Linked DNA regions of Homo sapiens: region 1 is linked to region 2. The links are contacts of gene promoters, found by promoter capture Hi-C in human tissues and cell types (Jung and others, 2019). All regions are on one chromosome and are shown on one strand. Each heading gives the region's core, a stretch centred on a gene start or on the middle of the fragment in contact. The rest is flanking DNA. Distances are from core to core; before and after follow the strand shown.

Region 1 (7,527 bases), core at 2,721-5,220, 64 kb before region 2:
GCTGCAACCCTTTCCTATACTACATCAGGACTTTATACATCTCTGATATACAAGAACATGACCACCCCAGTGTATACAACTTTGAAGGGGGTAACTCATTATTGTTATTGTTAAAACATGTGCTTCTCTTCATGATGGATCAAGGAAATTGTTAATTCAAGCTCCAGATTCCATTCTTAACATTTTACACAGGCTCTCCCTTTATAGAAAGTTTTACAAGTTCACGTTAACATATCATAAAAAAGAAGGAATGGAAAGGTCTGCAGAAGACACTTATCAGAATGTTAGAGGTCTGAGTCAGTTTTTACTGTGTCCCATGTGATTCCCCCACCTCCCCATGGCCATGAATTGTTTAAAGGAGACATATTATTAATAATGTAATGAAAACTCCTAATTTAGGCAGATCTTTGTATCAGTGCCAGGGTACCCCTTCCTTGCTTGAAGTATTAATTAAAAGAAGGATTGCAGGTATTGACAACCTTATATTTTCAGGCATCTTTTATAATTGCTTATTAGAATTCAGGGTTTAACAACATGATTTTGATAACAGCAAAATACATTCCCAAATTCCTTTTAAAAATCATATGCTGGCTGGGCACGGTGGCTCACGCCTGTAATCCCAGCACTTTGGGAGGCCGAGGCGGGCGGATCACGAGGTCAGGAGTTCGAGACCAGCCTGGCCAACATGGCGAAACCCTGTCTCTACTAAAAATATAAAAATTAGCCGGGCGTGGTGGCAGGTGCCTGTAATCCCAGCTACTCAGGAGGCTGAGTCAGGAGAATCGCTTGAACCTGGGAGGCGGAGGTTGCAGTGAACCGAGATCATGTCATTGCACTCCAGCCTGGGTGACAAGAGCAAGACTCCACCTCAAAAAAAAAAAAAAAAAAAATTCTATGCTATGACTTCTTCCTGTAAAACTTTCTGTTATCTAAAAAGAGTGATAACCTTAGGGATGGATACAGGGAGGTTGCTCTGCTTTTCTTTAGGAGGCGACCCTAATAACTAGCAGCCTTTTCTTGGATGAGTGGTAACATTAGGGATGGATACAGGGAGGTTGTTCCACTTTTCTTTAGAAGGCGACCCAAATAAGTAGCAGCCCTTTCCTGGATGACTCATCTGGGTCAGAGGAAGAAGACAGCTCCAGATCCAGCTCCCGGACGTCAGAGTCAGACTCACGCAGTAGGAGTGGGCCAGGCAGCCCCAGAGCCATGAAACGAGGTGAGGGAAAATCGCAGGCATATGAGGCAACTCCAGATCATTCTGAATATTAATTGGGAATTTTATCTCCATTACAGGATTATTTTTTAAATCCAAGAACTTGCTTCAGACCCTAGTGAAAAGAACTTTAGCCTATGACTGATATGTTTATATTCCTAATTCTCTTCTTAATTCTCTGTGATTTCAGACAAATTATATAGTTTTTTTTTTTCAGCTTTTTATTGTCTGTGAGAGGGAGATCACTTTATTGTTGGAATGAAGTGAGATAATTGGCCAAAATGAGGTTTCTTTCTTGGCATTTGTGAAATAGACTTATTTCAGCTAAAGTTGTTACACTGCTAACTGGCAGAAAATATACCTTAAAATTTGTCAATTAATCTGATGTTAAAGTGGAGAACAACATTTACTTGGAATATGTCTATGATTTTTAGTGGATTTTGAAGACATTCTGTGTGTAGGTAGTGGTTACAGAGAGATCTAATTCCACCAAATGACATCTGTATGTTATAAAAAGCCCTTAATGCAGCATGGTGTGTCTGTTGGCTTTCAAACTGTGTTCCATGGAACCTCTGGATACTTCCAATCCCCTCGGCTTCAACTGGAGCTGCTCAGCCTTCCTTGGTTTCATATTTTGAGCTTCCACTGGTCTTCTTGCTCTCAACTTGCCCCGCTACAGCCAGAATCAGGTTATGACACACTTTTGCTGGAAACACTGCAGTGGCTCCTCACAACGGCTATAAGGTGTTCCAGGATTCGGTCACGTACTTGACCTCATCTCCTTTCTTCTCTGTACTCAGCTCCAGTCTCACTGGCCCTCTTGCTGTTCTGAGACATGCCAGGCATGCTTGCATTTCAGGACCTTGGCACTGCTGTTTCCTCCAGCTGGTATTCTTCCCCTAGATGTCCGTATAGCTGACTCCCTCACCTCCATCAGCAAACGCTGCTTTCTCAATGAGGTCCACCCTGACCACACCACTCAAATTGCAGCCCTTTGTCTTTCTTCTGTTGCCAGCTCTTTTTATTCCCTTTAGTCTGCTCTATGTTTTATTGTTCCATACCACCTACTGCCTGTTTGTCAGTGGTCTCCTTCCGCTAGAATTTGTTCCACGAGAGCCAATATTTTTGTTGTTTGCTCTATCCCTAGCATCTAGGACAGTGCCTGGCACACTGGCCCTGGTCCTGGGAGCCTGAGACTTGTGTTCCAACATTGCCCCTGCCTAACTCTTTGACTTTGGACAAATCCTTTAATCTCTGGGCCTTAGTCTCCTTGGGCCTTAGCCATGACAATCACTGAGGTCCCTATAGGTCTACATTTTTGTTTATTCTATGAAAAATGAAGATATTATAGCAACTGTTACTTGTCTGAGTCAAATAAAAAGCAGTGTCACAAGAGTGGCATTGTTCTAATATGTCCCTTAAATGTTAATACATATTTTTAAAAATTGCTGGATACTTTTATAAATAATTACCTAAGTCCTTGATTTTATTTAATATATTCTAAATCTCCAATTGTAGTGACTCATGAAATGTGGCTTGCAACTCCCAGGTAGTTTTCTGTAAAGGCAAATGAATCATTGTATAAATGTTCCATTGAATTTTATGTTATAGCTGCTGGCAAGTGAAAGAAATAGTTTGTTTATATCTTTCAATCTTATTGTTTCTCTTTTATGAAATATTTTTAAAATCTGTAAACTGCTTAGTAGCTTATGGAACTTGAATGAAAAAATACTACTGAATTGTGTTTTTTTAAAATGTGAGGTTACTTTAAAAGTGATTACAGAAGTTAAGAAATTTAAAATGTGATTGTGAAAATCTTGATAAATTAAGGTTCAACATTTGTTTGCCTATATGTCAATGTGTAAATACACATATTTTTAATTCTTAATAAAATATACATGAGTAGACTCTTGCATATATTTTATATATGTAAAATAGCTGTGTGATTGTAATCATACCAAAATATTATTCCTGTTCCTTTCACTTCCTTAGAGATTTACATGACAGTCCCTACCTCTTAGTTCTGTTTTCTGCTTTAAAAGTTCTTCATGTTGGGAGGCCAAGGCAGGCGGATCACGAGGTCAAGAGATCGAGACCATCCTGGCCAACATGATGAAACCCCATCTCTACTAAAGATACAAAAATTAGCTGGGCGTGGTGGCGCACACCTGTAGCCCCAGCTACTCGGGAGGCTGAGGCGGGAGAATCGCTTGAACCCAGGAGGCAGAGGTTGCAGTGAGCCGAGATTGTGCCAGTGCACTCCAGCCTGGTGACAGAGCGAGACTCTGTCTCAAAAAAAGTTATTTATGGCCAAAGGAATGAGAATAAATCTAGTCTAGGGAGGCTTATGATTTAGGAATAATTGCATTCTGTAGGAGCACTCAGAGCTGGTGTTTGGCCCTCCCCAGTATTAAATACTGACTTGATTTCTTTCTTTGTTCTCTTAGGTGTGTCTCTCTCCTCTGTGGCTTCTGAAAGTGATTATGCTATTCCTCCTGATGCTTACTCCACAGACACGGAGTACTCACAGCCAGAGCAGAAGCTCCCAAAAACTTGCTCATCTTCCAGTGATAATGGGAAAAATGTAAATATTGAATATGATTTTTAAAAAGCAGTCAGTCAGATTGAGCCTCCAAAAGGAAACTGAAAATGCTTTTGTCTATCTTTTAAAAATTAGGAACCACTGGAAAAATCTGGTTATTTATTAAAAATGAGTGGTAAAGTCAAGTCTTGGAAGCGGCGGTGGTTTGTTCTTAAAGGTGGTGAATTACTTTACTACAAATCTCCGGTGAGTGGAAAGTGTTTTCTGTTTAGAACGTAATTCCTCAAACTATAAATCAGACGCCTGATTGATTTCCTTCCCATAATGCAAGTAATGATACAAAGCATTCCTTATTATTACTGTTAAAGTTAATCACTTTCCATTTGTTTTTCTGTTTCATACAGAGTGATGTAATTAGAAAACCCCAGGGCCATATTGAACTTAGTGCATCCTGTAGTATTTTAAGAGGAGATAACAAACAAACAGTTCAGGTACTTAACTTTTTTTTTTTTTTTTTTTTTTTTGTATCATGCCAGACTCAATTCTCAATTATCCAACCTAATGGAAAGGAGATAGGATAATTCAGTGTTTCTTTATTCACTTTGGGGGGTTAGTTTGATGCCTTGGAAGTATGTGAAACTCCACGAATTTTTGGTTAAAACTATAATGTAAGTTAGGTGTGTGTTGAGTAACTCCCACCACACTTTACCTTTCTTCCTTTATACTCTTCTTTCCTCATATTTAATCTCCTAGGTATTTTCAGCTGTCCAACTGTGAAGCTATTTTAAGGAAGGGTTATCTGGTAAATGAATTCTCAATAAGATGTTAGTTATATAATGTACTGTGAAATTCAGGAATGTTTGTATTTTAATATAGAATCTGAAAATGACAGTTCTTATATGAACTTCAGATGCCATAACACCAAAGTGGGAAATATATTGGTGAGCAGAGGGAGTGTGCTGCCAAGCAAGTCACACTGTAGGGGCAGCTGCTGCCCATTTTACTCACACATAAGGCCAGTCTTGCCAGAAATCTGTTAAATTTAAAACACAGGCTGTTGAGATATTCTAGTATATGTAATTTAAAGTCAGACACTTTATTTCTGAAATGTCTTCAATAACCATTATTTTCTTATATTGCTCCTTTGGAGGGTGGAGGACAACTTTGCCAGAAAGGTACATTATCAATGTTTCCAGTGATTTGTACCTGAAAACCTCTCAAAAATTTAGAAAGGAGAATCAAGGAAAGCTTTGTCTTTGGGCATGGCAGTTAAGAATCATTTGTAAGTTTCTGAAATTTGGAAAATTTGCAGTGTGGCTAATTTGAGACTGGAACATTCTGAGTTCATAATATCTAATCACATGTTCGTTCCAATAATTTATCTTCTTATATGCAAGATCTTCTTATTTTATTTATAGTTGATTTTGTCATTTGTATTAAGAAACCTCTTCTTTAGTTGCTAAAACTATGCTATTTTATTATAGTCTTTAATCATTCTGCTCCTCATTTCAATAAGTAGGAACCTGGCCGGGCGCGGTGGCTCACGCCTGTAATCTCAGCACTTCAGGAGGCTGAGGCAGGCGGATCATGAGGTCAGGAGATCGAGACCATCCTGGCTAACACGGTGAAACCCCGTCTCTACTAAAAATTCAAAAAAAATTATCCGGGCATGGTGGCAGGTGCCTGTAAGTCCCAGCTGCTCGGGAGGCCGAGGCAGGAGAATGGTGTGAACCCAGGAGGCGGAGCTTGCAGTGAGCCAAGATGGCGCCACTGCACTCCAGCCTGGGCGACAGAAAGAGACTCTGTCTCAAAAAAAAAAAAAAAAGAAAAGTAGGAACCTGTAACACATTTAAGCAAGAAAGGGAAAATGTGACAAATAAACAAGATATAAAATCATAACCCCAAAATTAGGTAAACTGGAGTAACAAAGTTATTTCCACAAAAATTTAATTGCTGTAATTCTCACAAAGTGGTTAAAATATTCTAACTGATATGGAGTCATTTATTTAGAAACTGGGACTTGAGATTTAGCATGTTTGCTTCTGTGTTAAGTAATGACGTTTGAATAATGAACAAGGAAATGCTAACAATCCTAAATCTTCACAGTTTTCTTTCCTATACCTTTCTCGTTGCATTCTAGTTGACCACTGAAAAACACACATACTATCTGACTGCAGATTCTCCCAATATATTGGAAGAGTGGATTAAAGTGTTACAGAATGTTCTTCGAGTACAAGCTGCCAACCCACTTTCCCTGCAGCCTGAGGGCAAACCCACCATGAAGGGATTGCTCACTAAGGTAGGAACCTCCTGTGCATAGCAATGTCCCAGGCAGCTATGGGCATGAGCCCATGATCGCTGAAAATGGGATGTCAGAGCATATACATATATTGAATATTGATATGATCTTGGGGATAGGAAAGGGTGTTTTTAAGTATGATGCCCAAGGCAAAAACTATAAAGATGAAAAGAAGACAAATTTGACTATAATATGTAAAAATGTAAAGGCTCTATTAAAAATTCTACGAGCAGAATTTTTAAAAGAAGGATTGAAAAACTTTGAAGAGGTATTTGAAACATGTGAAAACTGGTTAATATCATTAATATTTAACACGTTTTTTTCTAATCAGTAAGCAAACAATGAACACCAATTGGGGGAAAAGGAACAAAAGACTCAATGGGCAGGAAAGAGAGATCATCGAGGTTAGAAGGAATACAAATGATCAATAAGCATATGGAAAAACATTTTACTGTCACTCAATTTTTTTAAAAGCACAGATTGAAATAAGAGGTGGCACTTTTTAAAATCTGGTGAAAAGTAAGACGTTTTTACAAATTTTGAAACCTAGTATTGACACAGATTAAAAAATCTGCTAGTTTCTGCAATTACATAGGCAGTAGAAAAAAAAAGAAATCTGCTAGTGAGAGCATTACTCTAAAAGGCAGTTTGGCAATATCTTGGCTGAAGTGTTAACTTAGCCAATAATTTTGAGTGAACAAATCAATATCAAATCAACACACACACACACACACGCATATATATCTCCTTTGATCCAGCAATCTCAGTTTTAAAAATTTATCCTTAGGAAGTGGTCTTAATTTGCAAAAGATTTAATTATGAGATGTTCCTCACAGCATGTTTTTTTTCCTATTTTAAAAAATGAGGTATGATTAATATATCTGAAATGCACAGATCTTAAGTGTAGAGTTTGACTAGTTTTGAAAGCTATTTACTTTTGACTCTATCAAGATGCAGAACATTTCCATTACCCCAGAAAGATTCCTTGCACAGCATGGTTCATAATAAAGAAAAATTGGGATCAAATTAGATGTAGGGTAAGGTATAGCTTTAAAAAATGTTTGTACAACCATATAATGCTTTACTATGCAGCCTTTTAAATGTTGTAAAAGAATATCTAATGCTATAGAAATATGATGTATTGTTAGGTAATAAGTAGAGTGCAGTATTACATTATTATACCTTATTTGTTGTAAGTATTTATAGAAAAATGTCTGGGAAATATACCAAAGTATATTGGTTATCTCTGTGATTTTATTTATTTTTGCTTAATTCTGTTTTTTTTTTTTTTACAATGAGTAAGTATTGACTTAATATTATTTTTAAGTTTTAAAAAGTCCTATTGGTCACTTTTTGAAAAATACAACAAAATATGTATACACACATAATCACTCCTCATTCATGTACTCTGATTATGTAAGAGGTGGAAAATTAGATGGAAAGTAACTATGCTACTGTGTAGTTTATACT
Region 2 (7,741 bases), core at 4,244-6,743:
GCGTGAAGCATGATCCTGAAGAAGTAACCACCATGGATAACCATATTTCTCTAGAAAAAGGCTTTACCTGTTGGTGGGATGCCAAGAACATATTTCCCCCACCCACTCATCCCCCCTGCAGCTGATTTCTAGGGAGGGACAGCTCCAGTAATTTGAAAATTGAGGAAGAGAAGTGACAAGCAAGAAGAAGTGGACACAGCAGTTTCCCTGCTGCCCACCTGATTTATGCAGAAATGACATCTCCTCTCACATTTCCCCCCATTCTCTTTTCCCTAAAAGAAGAAAGGGATGGCTGGGCATGGTGGCTCACGCCTGTAATTCCAGCATTTTGGGAGGCCGAGGCGAGTGGATCATGAGGTCAGGAGTTCAAGACCAACCTGGCCAAGATGGTGAAACCCCGTCTCTACTAGAAATACAAAAATTAGCCGAGTGTGATGGTGGGCGCCTGTAATCCCAGCTACTTGGGAGGCCGAGGCAGAGAAGTGCTTGAACCCGGGATGCAGAGGATGCAGACAGCTGAGATCACGCCACTGCACTCCAGCCTGGGTGACAGAGTGAGACTCTGTCTCAAAAAAAAAAAAAGAAGAAGAAGAAAGGGATTTAACTGCAACAAAAAGAACTTTTTCTCCTTTAAATTCCAAATTAAGATAAGTCCGCATGTAGATGTTCAGGGTGAAGCAAGATTTATCTATATTTCAGTGGGACCAACATACAGGCTTTTCTTGGGTGTTTTTTTTTTTCTTCAATATCTTTATGACACTCAATTATTGGGGATTTAAGTGGGAAGATCAGTCCTACAAAGAAGAGTTGGTGGGTCTGGGCAGAGGCTGTGGGGAGGAGACAAGGTAAGCATTTACTTTATATTGTGATTTTATTTGTTGGATTTAATTTGACCTAAATTGTACATAGTCACAGTGACTCTGGATTATAATTCGCATCATTCCAAAAAACTTTATCGTATGCTTTATATTATTTTGCAGTCCAGTAATAGGAAAGGAATACCAACTTTACTAGGGAAAGGTCTATTAGCAAATAACTCCAAAATAGGACACAAATGTTCAGCAACGCACTTGAATACTGAGTACCCTTCCTTCCTGTGCTTTGCCAACATCATTTTCTTTCTTTTTTTTTTTCTGTCGCCCAGTCTGGAGTGCAGTGGCGCAATCTCCACTCACTGCAAGCTCCGCCCTCCGGGTTCATGCCATTCTCCGGCCTCAGCCTCCCGAGTAGCTGGGACTACGGGCGTCCGCTACCACTGGCTAATTTTTTGTATTTTTAGTAGAGACGGGGTTTCACCATGTTAGCCAGGATGGTCTCGATCTCCTGACCTTGTGATCCGCCCTCCCCGGCCTCCCAAAGTGCTGGGATTACAGGCGTGAGCCACCGCGCCCGGTCCATTTTCTTTTATTTTTTTTGAGACGGGGTTTTGCTCTTGTTGCCCATGCTGGAGTGCAATGGCGCGATCTCGGCTCACTGCAACCTCTGCCTCCCGGGTTCAAGCAGTTCTCCTTCCTCAGCCTCCTGAGTAGCTGAGATTACAGGCACCTGCCACCATGCTCAGCTAATTTTTTTTTTTTTCTTTTGAGAGGAGTCTCGCTCTGTCGCCCACACTGGAGTGCAGTGGCGCCATCTCGGCTCATGTAAGCTCCGCCTCCCGGGTTCACGCCATTCTCCCGCCTCAGCCTCTGCAGTAGCTGGGACTACAGGCGCCTGCCACCACGCCCGGCTAATTTTTTGTATTTTTAGTAGAGACGGGGTTTCACCATGTTGGTCAGGCTGGTCTTGAACTCCTGATCTCAGATGATCTGCCCGCCTTGTCCTCCCAAAGTGCTGGGATTACAGGCGTTAGCCACCGTGCCCGGCCTGCCAACATAATTTTCTAATAAACAGAGTGGGGGTGGGAGGGGAAGGGCCGCTCTTTCTGAACGTGCTGCTAGGTTATACTGTGGTTTTATGAAAATCAAACAACTCTTCTTTAGCAGTGGCAGTGGCAAAAGAAGGCTAATTCCCTCTCTCACTATGTGGCTCTAATGAATTCCCAGGAGCTCCTAGGAACTGAATATTGGGTGATACCAGAGGAAATGGCTTAGATGTTATTAACTTCTTGAGTTTCTGGAAAATGCTATCAAACCCAATAAGAGTTGCCTTTTATGAGAGAAAAGTTTACAGAAAGTGTAACCTTAGGAAAGCTTGTGGAGAGTTCTTGGGTTTTGGATCATGTACAGATTATAAGATGTTCCACTCAGGGATAGGGTATCATCAACACTGCTTTCATGTACTGACTATTCTATCGAAACATCTTCACATGAGGTTATCACTGACCACTTAACTGCCAAGTCCAGCAGACCCCAAATGGTCCAACTGTCTGCTGGACGATATCTCAAACTCACCATGTCCTCTAAACCTGCTTCTCCTGCTCTGTGCCCCTTAAAATTGGTTAAGAGGATCACCAGTTCATCCATCAAGAAGGAAACATTGACTTTTCTCCCTTTTACCAACGTCTTACTTTCTACTGTCTAGTAATTGTATTAGATAGAACTCTTTTTGCTGTAAATTCCAAAATTCAACTTGAACTAGCTTAGACAAAAATGAGAAATTGTATTACAAGGATATTAGGATGTCTCATATAATCAAAGAGCAAGCTGAACAACCAAGCCATAAGAAAGGTGAGGACACAGGCAAGCCTTAGGGACAATTAGAACCATGAGACATATGCCAGCACTTTCCCTTCATATTGATGTGTGTCTGATGTGTGCTCACTAACTACAAAATAATTCATTTAGCATAAAATATGCTAATTTCCTCTAGAGGTAGAGTGACTTACTTTTCCCAATTCTAGTTTGAAAAATTTCAGGGAAGGACTGTGATTAACCCAGCTCATGTTAGGTGTTCACTCTGAACCACCCCAAATGTACTCAACATTAGGAGAATGCTTAAGTACATTACGAAAAATCTATGCAGTGAAATATTCTGCAACCATCAAAGTTATGTTTATGATGCAGTTTTAAAATTTGATATGGTGCATTTTTAAAATTTGATATGGGGAAATACATGTTAAAATCAGGACATTAATTAACTTTACAATTAATCTCAACTTTGTAAGAAAAAAGATTAGAATGAAACATATCAAATGTATTTCCAAAATACCTAATAGTTACTACTTCTGGCTTATGCTTATTTTACCCTCTTAATTTTCTGTGCATACGTTTTTTCCCCTACAATTAGCTTATATAACTTTGAAAACAAGGGAAAAAATTTTAAAACTCTGCCTGTCACTTTCCTAGCTATTGTTAATAGCCTCCGCATGGTCTTCTAGATGCCAAACCACCCTTCACACAACTGCAAAAAATTATCTCACTGAAATTCATGTCTAATCATGGCACACTCCTATTTTTAAACCCTATTTGGTTTCTCATAACCAACACAGTAAAGTCTAGACTACAGCATCCTTCACAGTAGCCCCATCTACCTGCCCAGTTTGCTCTTCCACTGTAGCTCCACCAGGCACTTTATATGATCGCAACCCAAACTATTCAGTTTCCCAAATACATCCTGCACACGCCTTTACCCTTCTGCACTGTTGCTCATTCCATCCAGAAAGCAGCATAAAATTGTCTCCTTCTCCTTCCATTCTTACCTTAAGAACAATCTTCATCTACCCAGGAAAGTCACTTTCTTTGCCCAAGTATGAAGGCCTCAAGAGGAATGAGGGAAGAAAGGGGAACTCACCTGCTCAGTCAGATCAACTGAATCAACCCTGAATCAATGCTGCTGATCAGGGCCCAGCCGGATCACCTTCACTTTCCTGGTTACCAAGCTCCCTCCTTCAAACACCTCTCCCCGTTATTCAAACAAGTGTACTTTTGAAGTACTCGTACTGAGTATTGTGCCCAGTACATAGCAAGCACTTGGCAAAAATGTTAGCTGTCGTTATTGCTATCAATATCAACAGGCCTTCCTAACTAGCATGCAAAAGTATTCTGAAGTTCTAGAACCCAAATCATTACAATTCATTACAATCTGTCCCATATCAGTTTGTGAGCTTAAAGTCTGGCTTAGCACCAGGCTATAGCTGTTGATTCAATGACAGATGTATAAGCCTCCTTTGAAAAATCATCCTTTCTTCGGTGAGCTCTACTCCCATTAATTCCCTTCCTATGTGCAGCTTAGTGTTCTTTACGTCTCCAAAATATACCTAGGTGTTGGGAGGATTTTGTTCCCAATGACTTTATTTGAAATAAACACCCTTTTATCAACCATCAGCCTTGTTTCCAGGAATGTGTTCCTTGTGTTTCTTTGTTCGAAGTTGCTGACCAGCAGCTTATCACACAATAATAACAAGCATTAAGCAGTTATAATGTGTCAGACACCCACGTAAGTTATGTTTTACCTACATTTATCTCATTTAAGATTCACAATCTTTCCCGCTTTACAGGATCAGAAATTCAGTGATTTACCCGATGTGGCAATGTGACAACTTAGCCAGCGTGGCCAAGTCAGAACTTGAACCTAGGTCCATCTCACGCCAAAGCCCATGTACTTGAACATCGCACCATAGAAATCAAGCCGAATAGTAGAGGACTGGAGGGAGGGTATCTCCTTCAAATATTCAGGGCATCTTAGGCTAGAAAGCCTGAGTCTACTCAGCATTCAATACAGACCAAATACTATCAGTGCCATGGTTTCACCATCTCCTTCAGGCATAATTGGTCACTTGCCCTCATGCAATTTTTGTACCTCTATACAATAGTTTAGATCACTCACTTCCTTAGGTGCTTATAATTAGCTGAGTGTGTGTCTTTCTTAAGGGCAGCGATCTTTTCTTACTCATCTCTTTATTCCTTATTCTGTGTAGCATAGGGCCTTGCATATTCAATGATTGTTATTTATTTCAATGCTCGTTATTTATTTGGACACTCCTGCAGATCTATAAAGAGACCACAAAGTTCCAAAAGAAAATAATCTACATTCACAAAGTAAATGAAGTATGTAGGAGATGCACTTGCTTCATTAATTTATTAATAAATACACAATGTGCTATTGAATAAAACTTGAAACAACTAAACATCTAGAAAGTTGGAAAATATTAAAATTACGTGCCTTATTTTAAATTTTAAAGTCCGAATATTCCTTGCTTCTAGTAAATTAGCAGAAAACAGCTCAAGAGATTGTTACACCCTCTATTCCTAAATCATGGCGATTGGGAAGAAAAAAGTGAAAGATGAGAGAGAGAGAGAGCAGAGACCCTTGGCATATAGTTGACACCCAGTAAAAAAATTTTAAAATAAAAGAAAATTGCTTTTAGATCCCAGGTTTGTAACCCCTTATCATCTCGTTCTAGGAGGTAACAAGGAGTTACTAACTTGGGATCTAAAAGCAATCCTAAGGCTTGAGGCCGAGAATGAGATGTAAAAGGACTCCTGAAAACTACATTTCCCATGATGCCCGTCTCCCCACGCAACCGCGGCCGCGACGTCGCTCCCATGGCAACCCAGAAGGCCTCACTCCCAGACTCCTTGCGGAGCTCGCCGCCTGATTCTAGGCTGGTCACTACTCCGAGCCTGTGACGTTTGCGGCAGCCAGGCCGTCGACGATGCCCAGGTATTCCCTGAACCCGGCTTGCGTGGGAAAGGCTACTGAGAGTATTCCTGGAGAGAGGAAGCCCAGGCGGGACCAGCTGTTGGAAGATTGTGGGGGTGGCTACTTGCCACCAGGATATGCAGGGTCGGGGACCTAGGAATCAGCCTTGAGCATAAAGATTCTGCCGCAAACAGGAAAGAAAAGAAAGTTCCCTAGGTAGAAAAGTGAGAGATTTGGAAAGATCAGCAACTCCACCCATTCAATGATTGAATAAAAGTTTCTTGCAGGCCAGAGACTACTTCCGGAGCAGGACATTCGGCGATGAGCTAGACCACAAAGCCTCCTCTCCCCAGGGGCCTCCCCTCCTGGTGCGGGGGTTCGCAGTAATAAGCGAGGGGAAACTTGGAAGGCACTGTGGAAAGTATAACATCACTTTTAAGGGGGGAAACGGGAGAGGGTTTGTAAACTATATTCTAGCTGTTCAATTCTATGATATTCATTTTAATTACCTGTTCACAAGATATTCCTAAACCTTTTCTCAACAATTTATGCTTAAGCACGTCGGGGAGAGGGGTCAGGGAGTGCATCACAGAGCAGGATAAATCTTTTTCTCTCCTTGGGATAGTGTGGAGAATTGTCAGCTTTCCATCAAGGGATAATTGGTTAGTTATAAAGCTATGGTTATACTTCCCGATTTCCGCAGGTGTCGTGGCTGACTGCAGCACCTCCGTCTTTCCTCTCTGCTAGGTATTTGGAAAGCAGATCCTCATATTTTGAAAGAATGTTGTGTAAATGAAGAGCAAACAGCCCGAAACTGAGTTCTGAAGGCTCACCTGTGAAATAAATGCATGAATTTTAGTGCAAACATTTAAGGACTCCTGTTTTGACCCTTTTTCTTATTCCTGGTTCTTGAATAGTATAATTACAAGCCCTCAATAATTTTTGTAATTGTATAGGCCATGCCCTAAACTACATATATATTTTAACAATTATGACAATCCTATAAAGCTGATACTCTTTTTTATTGGCTTTTTAGAGATAGAGAAACAATTGAGCCTGGGGAATAGCACAGAGGATTGCATATATTAGGTGCTCAATAAATATTTGTTTAATTAATAAAGGAATGAAGGATTTAAAGAGGTTAGGTAGTTTTCCCAAGTTCACATACATAGGAAGTAGCAGAATCAGGCTAGGACCTATCAGGTCTTGCCCATGGTTAGTTTTTAGTTTAATATTCCATTTTCACTTAGGCTTTAATTAATATATATATGATTTTATCGTGTAAAGTTATATATCTGTGTAAAGAAATCAATGAAAGGATTGTTTTCAAAATGTTTGTGGTTTTAGGGTTTTTTTTTCTTTCTTTCTTTATGGTTTTTTTTTGGCGGGGGGAGACAAGGTCTTGCTGTGTCACCCAGGCTGGAGTGCAGTGATGTCAACATGCTTACTGCAGCCTCGACCTCCAGGGCTCAGGCAATCCTCCTGCCTCAGCCTCCCTAGTAGCTGGGACCACGAGTGCATGTCACCACACCCAGCTAATTTCTTTTCTTTTTCTTTTTTTATTTTCTTTTTTTTTTTTTTAGACAGAGTCTCGCTCTGTTGCCCAGGCTGGAGTGCAGTGGCACGATCTTGGCTCAATACAACATCCACCTCCTGAGTTCAGGTGATTCTCATGCCTCAGCCTCCTGAGTAGCTGGAGTTACAGACACCCGCCACCACACCTGGCCAATTTTTTTTTTTTTTTTTTTTTTTTTTTTTTAGTAGAGATGGGGTTTTACCATGTTGGCCAGGCTGGTCTTGAACTCCTGACCTCAAGTGATCCACCCACCTTGGCCTCCTAAAGTGCTGGGATTACAGGTGTGAACCACCACTCCCAGCCTCAGCCAATTTTTTTTGTTTGTTTTCTTTTCTTCTTCTTCTTTTTTTATACTTTAAGTTCTAGGATACATGTGCACAACGTGCAGGTTTGTTACATATGTATACATGTGCCATGTTGGTTTGCTGCACCCATTAATTCATCATTTACATTAGGTATTTCTCCTAATGCTATCCCTCCCCCATGCTAATTTATTAGTAGTAGTAGTAGTAGTAGCAGTAGTAGAGATGGGATCTTCCTGTATTGCCTAGGCTGATCTCAAGTGATCCTCCTGCCTCAGCCTCC

Evidence for each region. The method cuts DNA at HindIII sites, captures the fragments that hold promoters and counts their contacts. A contact is called where the count stands out against the background at its distance.
Region 1: a fragment that was not itself captured here is called in contact with the fragment with the promoter of DYNC2LI1 in region 2 in 1 of the 25 tissues and cell types used here (liver).

The regions. Positions count from the first base shown.
Region 1 is chr2:43,706,327-43,713,853 of GRCh38, forward strand. PLEKHH2 (pleckstrin homology, MyTH4 and FERM domain containing H2) reads left to right here. Exons shown (of 30, transcript NM_172069.4): 10 at 1-90; 11 at 1,075-1,219; 12 at 3,664-3,800; 13 at 3,894-4,004; 14 at 4,163-4,249; 15 at 5,899-6,057. Among named protein-coding and RNA genes, the nearest start is that of C1GALT1C1L, 34 kb to the left of the region's middle. The HindIII fragment of the contact is 5,564 bases long and covers 1,189-6,752 here.
Region 2 is chr2:43,768,546-43,776,286 of GRCh38, forward strand. DYNC2LI1 (dynein cytoplasmic 2 light intermediate chain 1) reads left to right here and starts at 5,494. Exons shown (of 13, transcript NM_016008.4): 1 at 5,494-5,601. The coding sequence starts at 5,594. LOC105374571 (a long non-coding RNA gene) reads left to right here and starts at 5,608. Exons shown (of 2, transcript XR_940033.2): 1 at 5,608-6,001; 2 at 6,328-6,447. It also overlaps the pseudogene RN7SKP66. RefSeq lists an enhancer at 5,380-5,429. The HindIII fragment of the contact is 10,095 bases long and covers 24-7,741 here.